Regions from separate parts of the Homo sapiens genome. Here region 1 is linked to region 2. The links are contacts of gene promoters, found by promoter capture Hi-C in human tissues and cell types (Jung and others, 2019). All regions are on one chromosome and are shown on one strand. Each heading gives the region's core, a stretch centred on a gene start or on the middle of the fragment in contact. The rest is flanking DNA. Distances are from core to core; before and after follow the strand shown. Region 1 has its middle 29 kb from the start of GAL. Region 2 holds the start of MRPL21 (mitochondrial ribosomal protein L21).

Region 1 (4,788 bases), core at 1,091-3,590, 250 kb after region 2:
TGGTGTCGGCCTTTACTGGCTGACCTGCTGGCCAGTGGGAGCTACTGATGGTCTCAGAGGTGTGGCTCAGCCTGCCTGGCTGAACCCACTGCGCGTCAGGGATGTGCCTGGACTCTGCAACCCACATCTCACCATGAGGTGGCCGCTGCAGCTCGGGGCTTGTTCACCCCACTGCCGGCTCTGGGAGAGGAGGTGCTTGTGCCCTTGTCCTGAGGTCCAACTGTGTGGAGGGAGGGTCTCTGGGGCCCATCCTAGGGAGGGTCCCAGTGGCACATAATCCTGGGCACCTCCAGCCTCTGGCCCATCCTCCAGCAGGCAGACCACATGGAGAGGGTCCCCTCTCTGACAACCAGCCGTGAGCAGGGCCCCTGACAGCTGCCCCCAGCCTCCCACTGGGGGGTTTCAGAGCCACATTCCCTGCCCCTGACTTAGCAGGATGGGGCCTGGCCCCTTGAGGTCCTCCCAGGAGATTCTCATGATGAGCTCTGCCAGGGAAGCCCTGTTCCAGGGGTCCTGGAGGAAGGGAAAGGGTCCTACAGCCAGCGCAGGTCACAGTGCTAAGAGACGGACCCAGAGGGCCAGAACGGAGGCCCCCTGGGGAAGGCTGGGTGAACTAAGCAGAGCTCTAAAGGCTGGCAATTTCCCTGGAGGCTGAGAGACCTCAATTTTTAGAGCCCCTCTCTTGCACACACCCCTTCTGGGAGGGTCCCAGCAGCATCCACACAGTCATTTAAAATTTGCGGAAGTTGGCCGGGCATGGTGGCTCACACCTGTAATCCCAGCACTTTGGGAGGCCAAGGCAGGCAGAACATGAGGTCAGGAGATTGAGACTATCCTGGCCAACATGGTGAAACCCCATCTCTATCAAAAATACAAAAATTAGCTGGGCGTGGTGGCGTGCACCTGTAGTCCCAGCTATTCAGGAGGCTGAGGCAGAAGAATCACTTTAACCCGGGAGGCAGAGGTTGCAGTGAGCAGAGATCGTGCCACTGCACTCCAGCCTGGCAACAGAGCGAGACTCCATCTCAAAAAACAAAAATTGCAGAAGTCAGACGCTTTGTTCAGTCGGTGAGGACTGTAGGCTGGCTGCGCTCTGGAGTTCAGGTCCCCTCTGCTGCAGTGGTACTAGGGGCTGTAAACATTTGTGGGATCTGGCTGAGGGGAGGTTGAGCTGGGGACACCTTTAGTGTGGATTGGGTGGGTGGGTGAGATTTTTTTGTGGCTATTGTAACAAATGACCGCAAATTGGGTGGCTTAAAACAACAGACATTTATTTTCCCACAGTCTGGAGGCCAGAAGTTCACAACCAGGGGGCCAGGGGTGAGGGTGTGTCCTGCCTTTTCCATCTTCTGCTGGTGGCAGTGCCTGGCACTCCATGGCGGTGGTGCCTCACTCCAGCCTCCACCTGTCCCCCTGGTCTTCTCCCCTCTGCGTGTCTGTGTATCTGTGTCTCTGTGTCCTAAATCCACATTTCCCTCTTAGAAGGACACAAGTCATGGATTTAGGACCCCCCCACCTACCACCACCACCCAATCTAACCTCATCTTAGCTTGATGACTTCTGCAAAGACCCCATTCCAAAGAAGGTCACATTCCCAGGCACTGGGGTTAGGCTTTGAGAGTTTTTTCCCGCCGTAAAACAATGCCCATTTATGATCTCGTCACTGCTGCAAGTCAGAAGTCTGGGTGCAGCAGGGCTCATCAGCCCTCAGCTTGTGTCTCACGTGTCTGAAACCCGGGGACGGGCCGGGCTGCGTTCCTTCCTGGAGGCCCAGTTGGTGAATCTGCTTCCAAGTTGATTCAGGTCATTGGCTGAGTTCAGTTCCATAGAGTTGCAGGGCTTGAACTTGTCCTCTTAGAGCATATAATTCAACTCACCACAGTGGGGTATATCTATGTGGTTCAAGGTCTCTTCTGGTGCAGTTAGTTTGCCACTGGTCCTCCCCACATGGGAATGTCTCTGTCTAGGGACAAGGTGCAAATTTGCTGGCTTGATGCAGAAAGGTGAGGCCTGATGTGGTATATGACCCATCCCACAGCATCCAGCTATGGAGGTAGGGGTGCCCAGGAACCTGGGTGATGGATGGAACTGAAGCTGGCCCATGGGAACGCCCTCTAATCAGCAGACATGTGGATGGTCAGCAGAGGGGCCGCCCCTGCTGCAGCCCAGTCAGACAAAAGCACTTTCCTGCCAGGAATACGCTCGCTCACGCAGATCATGGCCACAAACCCACTTTTGCACATTCTTTCCTTTTGTGATGGGAACTGAATAAAGCAAAACTCGTCACAATTCCTGTTTGCAGAACAAGGAACTGCAGCTCCCACTACAAACGAGCCCATCTGTGGACACTGACACACAAAAGAAACTCAGGAGAGGCTTTCCCGAATGATACCAATCCTAAGAATGTACACAACGTCACCAGCATTGGGTTGTGAAGCTTCAGGAACTTTCTCTACACCATCAATAATGAAAAGTAAATTCGTATCCATCGTGGAGGAGGAGAGGCCATATCATCTTTCTGTTCTCTCTGCAGAAAATCATAAAACAAAGTCCTTGTCCTATGAGAGATGAACAATGAGTACACACATTCGAAAATACCGGGGCACAGGTATTGTAGAGCGAGTCAGGTGACTAAGAAGAACTGTGATTTTTCCACATTTTGTAATGTTGATGACACTAATCAGCTTTTTAAAATCTGTAGTTTTCTGTGACTTCATTTCTCAGTCTAAGCGATACTCACTTCTATGCCTGTGTTTGTCTTAGTTATTTTATATTCTTTGTCTTTTTTCTTTTTTGTTTTTGACAGAGTCTTGCTCCATAGCCCAGGCTGGAGTGCAGCGGTGTGATCTCGGCTCACTGCAACCTCCGCCTCCCAGGTTCAAACAATTCTCCTGCCTCGACCTCCCAAGTAACTGGGATTATAAGAGTGCACCACCACGCCCGGCTAATTTTTGTATTTTTAGTAGAGGTGGGGGTTTTACCATGTTGGTCAGGCTGGCCTTGAACCCCTGACCTCAAGTGATCTGCCCGCCTGGGCCTCCGAAAGTGCTGGCATTACAGGCATAAGCCACTGTGCGCAGCCTATATTCTTATTCTTAAAGAGGCCCCCCAGATTATATAAGCTCAGACCCGGCAAACCTGGGTTTGGCCTGCCTGAAAGATGAGCTGGGCTTTCACAGAGGGTGTAGTGGGAAGTGGGGAGGGAAGTTGAGGGGCTGTGGGGGCTGGGGCCAGCGTGTGAGGAGGCTGAATGCGCCTGTGGTACTAGGGAGCCATGAAGGGTTTCTGGGGAGAGGCGTGACTTCTAGGACCCACGTCTTAGGCTTTTAGGGCTGATGCGTAGAGAGGCGCACCCCACCACCCATCCTCGGCCACCCCACCAGAGACCATGAGGCTGGGCGGCAGCATCTGCCCAGGCTGTCCAGGTGCCATTGGGGGACCCTCTTCTCTGCCATCACTGGCACCCACAGAAGCCTGCAGTGCCATTCCAGGACCTGAGCCAGGTGGCTTTGGACTCAGTGGCTGCAAGAGCCGGATATGGTTAGAGGCCTGGCCAGGGCATCTCCTGAGATGGCCCCTGGGCGCGGGGCTGGGCGTGACCAGGAGGGATTGGAGGTGCATCTTCAGTGGATGGTCTCTGCTTTTGTCCTTGTGGGGATCCCTCGCTCACACTCCTCCACAGCTGTGCCCTTGGTCCAGTGAGGGCAGCATGGAAACGGCACTTCACAGAGGGGGTCTGGAACAGAACTAGCATTGCCACATCTGCCAGTTTCAGGCTGCCCCAGAAGGGCGGAGACCCCTCCTCCTGGCCCCTTTCCAGGCTCACGCATCCAGTGTGTCCCAGGCCACCTGCGTGGGTGATGTCCCCAGTTCCAGCCACTCCCAGCCGCCCAGGGCCCTGCTCCTGCCTCCAGAGGCAGGCTGCACCCTGAGGTTTGGGAAGCCAGTGGGAGGCAGCACAGAGGTGCGCCCGAAGTCATCGCTCCACATGTGGCCCCACAAACGTGAGAACGTCGAAGGGCTTTGCTTTGCTACACTCACTCCTCCTTTACCCCACAAACTTTCATTGGTTGTGCCCTTGGGGATAGGCCTGAGCCAAGCACCTGATGACGGAGTTCCCAGGTGATCCCATCCTGGCCTGCAGAGCTGGGTAGGGAGAAGCTCTCTTCCCTGTTTGGGACACTGGTGTGATGCCTTTAGCTGTGCAGCCATCTTAAGACCATGCGGTCACACACACGAGGATGAGAGGCAATGTTCTGAAGATGACGGCTCCCCAGCACTGAGGACCCTGGCCCCTGCCTGCCCCCCTGGGAAGCAGAGCGAGTCACATCTGCCTTTATCACCTGCAGCAAAGCATCGGGACTGGTCCACAGGGATGCCTCTGAGACTCTAGGCTGGGGCATTAGAACGAGCTTTGTGCTCAGGGAGGATGAATGATGTCCACGCTGGGCTGTGGGGATGGAGGAGAGGAGTCTTTGGTAAAGGGGCTCACAGGCTAGTGGGGAGCAGAGGGACTGAGTACTCACAGCCAAGTGACAAGGTGACAAGTGTTTTGATGGGGTTAGGGCTCAGTGGGCTCAGCCCGCCCAGGCATTTAGCGAGGCCGAGGTATAGGGAGGGCCTCGGAAACCCTTCCCTGTGTGAGGAGTTTGATGCACAGGGTGCTGCCCCTGGACACGGGATGCTCAGGTGGCCTGCTCCAAACCGTGAGCCACCACCCAAGGACCCTGGCAGGCCTCCACCCCGTGTGGTGGCTGCAGGTCCTGCCAAGGCCCAAGGACACCCAAG
Region 2 (4,680 bases), core at 541-3,040:
GCTATTCGCCTCCCTCACCTGCTTAACCCCGCTGATGGCCCATCCTTCATACACAGAACAGAAGACTAGCTCCTTAGCCAGGCCCTTCCCAGGCTCGCCCTGCCAGTCTGCTCAGCATCCTCAGAAAGAGCCACTGCCATGGGGGCTGACTCTGTCCTTGGCACCACGCTGAGCACCTGACTGACAGGGGATCGTTTCATTCTCAGAGCAAGCCTGTGAGGTGGGAATCATCCCAGTTTTACAGATGAAGTAAGTAAGGCTCAGAGACAGAACCTGCAAAGTCACACAGCCATAAATGAAACAGCTGGGATTCTAAGAAACTCAACATAACTGCAAAAGCTCTCCATTGCCATGATCAAAAGCATCTCAGACAAATCCTACCCACATATGGCTGACTGCAAACTCTGGAAGCAGACTGCCTGACAGCAAATCGGGCTACACTGTGTCACCCCGGGGCAAGTTACTTAACCCCTCTCTGTCTCCATCTCCTTAGACGGAAAATGACAGTAACAGAAACCTACACTGCGGCCGGGCACGGTGGCTCACGCCTGTAATCCCAACACTTTGGGAGGCCAAGGCGGGCAGACCACGAGGTCAGGAGATCGAGACCATCCTGGCCAACATGGTGAAACCCTGTCTCTACTAAAAATACAAAAAATTAGCAGGACGTGGTGGCGCGCCTGTAGTCCCAGCCACTCAGGAGGCTGAGGCAGGAGAATCGCTTGAACCCGGGAGATGGAAGCTGCAGTAAGCCGAGATCGTGCCACTGCACTCCAGCCTGGGCGACAGAGAGAGACTCTGTCTAAAAAAAAAAAAAAGAAAAAGAAAAAAAAGAAACTTACACTGTAGGGTTGGCATGGGATGAGGTGTAAAAGAATTAACGCATGGAAAGTACGTAAGTGTTAGCTCTGATTGTTTTGGACAAGTAAATAGTCCCATTCGGAAACAAGCCCGGCTCTCACATGGCTCCCCACACCTCTCAGGACGGCTCCCCACCCTACTCCGCACCCACCAGCTTAACTCCAATTTTCCTTCAGGCACCACTCCCTCCTTGAAGCCACCATGACCCTCCCCAGGGAAGGGCCTTCCTCCTCCAGGCTCTTTCCCCGCGACACGCACGCAGCCGGCCCTGGACGCACTGGAGGGGAAGGGACTCTCTGCTTATGCCCAGCCCGCCGCTGGCCGGATCGGGGGCAGCCAGTGCACCTGACTCATGCTGCCGGGGCCTGACTGAGAATGGGCGCAAACCATGTTTACTGAATGAATAAGGGAAAGGGCTGCTAACTCGCTGCGGGTGGAACTGGGGTCGGGGCCAGGGCCCAGGAGTGTAAGCTTAGTGGGGGGTCTCGGGTCGGGAAATCAAAGTGCTTCTTAAGGGTCCCCAAACGGAACGCGCTGCCCAGGAAGTGATGAGACTGACAACTCGGGAGGTGGCCAAGCAGGGGACGGACGATCCCTGCCCCTGACTCGAAGGGTCGGAGACGAAATTCCCGCCCCAGACTATGAGGCCGAGCCCCTCGGAGACTCTGCCCGGGACACGGCGGGACCGACCGCGAGGGAGCGGCGCCGGCGGCCTCCCGTACCTGCGCTCCTCCACCTCCGCGTCTCTCTCAAGCTCCAGCAGGTCCAGTTGCTTGGTCACGAAGCTCTCCACAGCTGCCGAGGCCATCGCCGCCGCCGGCCTGGGCCCCTAGAAGCCGACGTCCCGCTTCTGCGCCGGGCCGGTGTTACAGCGGACCGGTGTTCCCCGCCGGGCCCGTGCGTTACGCACGCGGTTCGCGTCGTTTCCGTTTCCGGCCGAGGCTGCGGCCATGGCAGCATCTTCCCTGACGGTCACCTTAGGGCGGCTGGCGTCCGCGTGCAGCCACAGCATCCTGAGACCTTCGGGGCCCGGAGCAGGTGAGACCTGGGATATGGGAGGAAGGGAGGACGCAGAGCGAGCGCTGCTCCCTGCGGTCTCGCCACGTATGTGCCTGGGTCCGACCTGGTGCCTTGTGTGTTGATCGCATTTGTGGTGAATATAGCACGGGTTTTGGAGTCGGGGGAACCCAGGTTCAGATTTTGATTCCTTCAGTTAGTAGCCTGAATACTGACAATAGCCCTTGAACTTTGGTATAGGCCCTATGTTATGGGGGAGAAGAGTGAGGCTCAGAGGAGCTAGGTAACGTGCCCAGGGTCACACAGCGGGGAAGTGGAAGAAGAGTACTTCAGGCGCAGTCATTTCGGCTCCAAAGCCTGTGCTTGAACCACTGCCCCCAGGCTGCGAGCTGGTCTGAAAAATGGTGATGGATATCCTCGCCTAATCTGAACTCATTCTGCAAAAGAAACAGCCGTATTTAAGGCGCTGGGCTGATACGAGGCTCCAAAAAGGTTATGTCCGTTAAAAACTCTATAAATCTCTGCTTGAAAATGGTTGGAGTGTGTATTTGTGTGCATGAGTGTTTATGTATGTTTTAAACCTGGGTTTCATGTCTCACCATGACCCCCAAAAATGGAAAACTGGATCTAACTCTATATTGGACGATATTAAAAGAATAGTACCATAATTCCCAAAACTTGGAAGCAACCCAGATGTCCTTCAGGAGATGAATGGTTACATAAACTGTAGGACATCCATACAGTAGAATATTATGCAGCAATAAAAAGAAATGAGTCATGAAGAGACATGGAGGAAACTTACATACATGTTACTAAGTAAAAGAAGCCAACCTGAAAAGGGGACATCTTGTATGTTTCCCACTATGACATTCTGGAAAAGGCAAATCTAAGGAGACAGTAAAAAGTTACATGGGGGGTAAGAGGATTGGGGGAGAAAAGGATAAATAGGTGGAGCTCAGAGGATTTTTAGGGCAGTGAAACTATTCTGTATGATATAATGGTAGATACATGTCATTATAAGTTTGTCCAAATCCATAGAATGTACACTACCAAGGGTGAACCCCTAATGTAGACTATGGACTTTGGATAACAATGATGTGTCAATGTAGGTTCATCAATTGTAAAGATTGTACCACTCTGGTGAGGGATGTTGATAGGAAGCTGTGGGCACATGGACAGGGGACATATGGGAACTCTCTGTACCTTCCACTCAATTTTGGTGTGAAACTAAAACTGTGCTAAAAAATAAAGTCTATTAAGAAATTAATAATAATCACAGAGTTGGGCCAGAGGCAATGTAGATGCCAAAATTGGCCATGAGTTGGTAACTGTTGAACCTGGAAAGGGATAATTGAGAGAGTTCACTATTCTGTTCTCTTTACTTTTGTATGCTTGACATTTTCCATAATAAAACTTAGGTTTAAGTAGGCAGGAAAGTTTTTACAAAAGCAGTGGGACTTACTCCATTCTACCTACCTACATGAAACCACCCCTCCAATGCTATGTTCAAGTACAGACTCACGCATTAGGAGAGAAAGACACACAGTGAAGCGAGTAGAGACAAGGTGACCAAAACAGTGAGCAGCTGGGGCCTTGAAGAGTGAGCAAAGGAGACGTGATGGAAGTACACAGTCACAGTCTCTAGGACTACCTAAAGGAAATCCTGTGGGAGAGGAAGGAGACTGTTTGTTCCCTGGGGACCCAAAAACAAAGCTAGAAGCAAATTAGGTACAGAAGCCTGCTAAGTTTTTAATAGTGGGATGGATTTGCCAATGGGTTGACTGAGTAGTGTGCGAGAGAAGAGTCAAAACTGATGGAGGTTTGGGGCCTGAGCAACTGGGAGGATGAAGTTGCCCTCATGTGAGAGGGAGGAGTGTGGGAGAAGCAGGCATGGGAAGAAATGAGGAGCCTCTGGAGGTGTGAGGTGCTCGTCAGACACGAGTGGCTAAGGCAGATAGATAGGTGGGTATGCAAAACCAGGAGAGAAGCCCTGGCTGGAGGTGTAAACTTGGGAGTCACCAGCACATTGGGGGTGTTTAAATCCATCGGACTGGATGCAGTCACCAGAGGAATGGCCATGGGCGGAGAGGAGGTCAAGGCCAAGGGTTGAGCCCCGGATGCCCAAATGGGAGAGGAGAGGAGAAAGCAGCCGAGGAGATGCAAATGGGGAGCTGGTGCTAATGGGTGAACTTTAAAAAGGTGGTTTTTATGGTGTGTAAATTATAGCTGAGTTTCTTTAAAAGTGGTTATTGAGAAACTGTTCTCTGCTTTTTACACCTAAGCACTTATTTTGATCCCCTGTCTTCTCAGTAGATTGAATGTCTTTGTTTCCTGGTGTATTCCTGGTGTATGCGTTATCTACGGTTACATCAGAAATTACCCCAAAACTTAGCAGCTTAAAACATTTATTAACTCACACCAGTTCTGAGAGCCAGGAACACAGAAGCAGCTTAAGTGGCTGGTTCTGGCTCAGGGTCTTAGCTTGCAGCAAGCAAGTCTGCAGGGGCTGTAGTTATCTCAAGACTCCACTGCGCCAGCGGCTGGAGAATCTACCTGCAAGGTCGTTCCCATGGGTGTTGGCGATAGGCCTAGTTCCCCGCCATGTGGACCTCTAGGTAGGGCTGCTCACAGCAGGGCAGCCCTAAGGCCAGAGATCAGAAAGGGTGAGCACAGGCATCCAAGATGGAAGTCCCAGTTGGTTATCACCTCATCCCAGAAGCCACGTGCTAGCATGTCTGTCACTAGCTGTTGGACACACAGGCCACTCCCAGGGGGCTAACAGGGGTAAGAATAGCAGGAGGC

What was found. Contacts are between HindIII fragments. The study calls those that stand out against the background at their distance.
Region 1: a fragment that was not itself captured here is called in contact with the fragment with the promoter of MRPL21 in region 2 in 1 of the 25 tissues and cell types used here (IMR-90 fibroblasts).

The regions. Positions count from the first base shown.
Region 1 is chr11:68,652,951-68,657,738 of GRCh38, reverse strand. No RefSeq gene overlaps it. Among named protein-coding and RNA genes, the nearest start is that of GAL, 29 kb to the left of the region's middle. The HindIII fragment of the contact is 5,786 bases long and covers 1-4,788 here.
Region 2 is chr11:68,900,942-68,905,621 of GRCh38, reverse strand. MRPL21 (mitochondrial ribosomal protein L21) reads left to right here and starts at 1,790. Exons shown (of 7, transcript NM_181514.2): 1 at 1,790-1,899. The coding sequence starts at 1,812. It overlaps IGHMBP2 (immunoglobulin mu DNA binding protein 2), which reads right to left and starts at 1,731. Exons shown (of 15, transcript NM_002180.3): 1 at 1,584-1,731. The coding sequence starts at 1,669. RefSeq lists enhancers at 1,249-1,308, 1,639-1,758, 1,190-1,917. The HindIII fragment of the contact is 6,843 bases long and covers 1-4,680 here.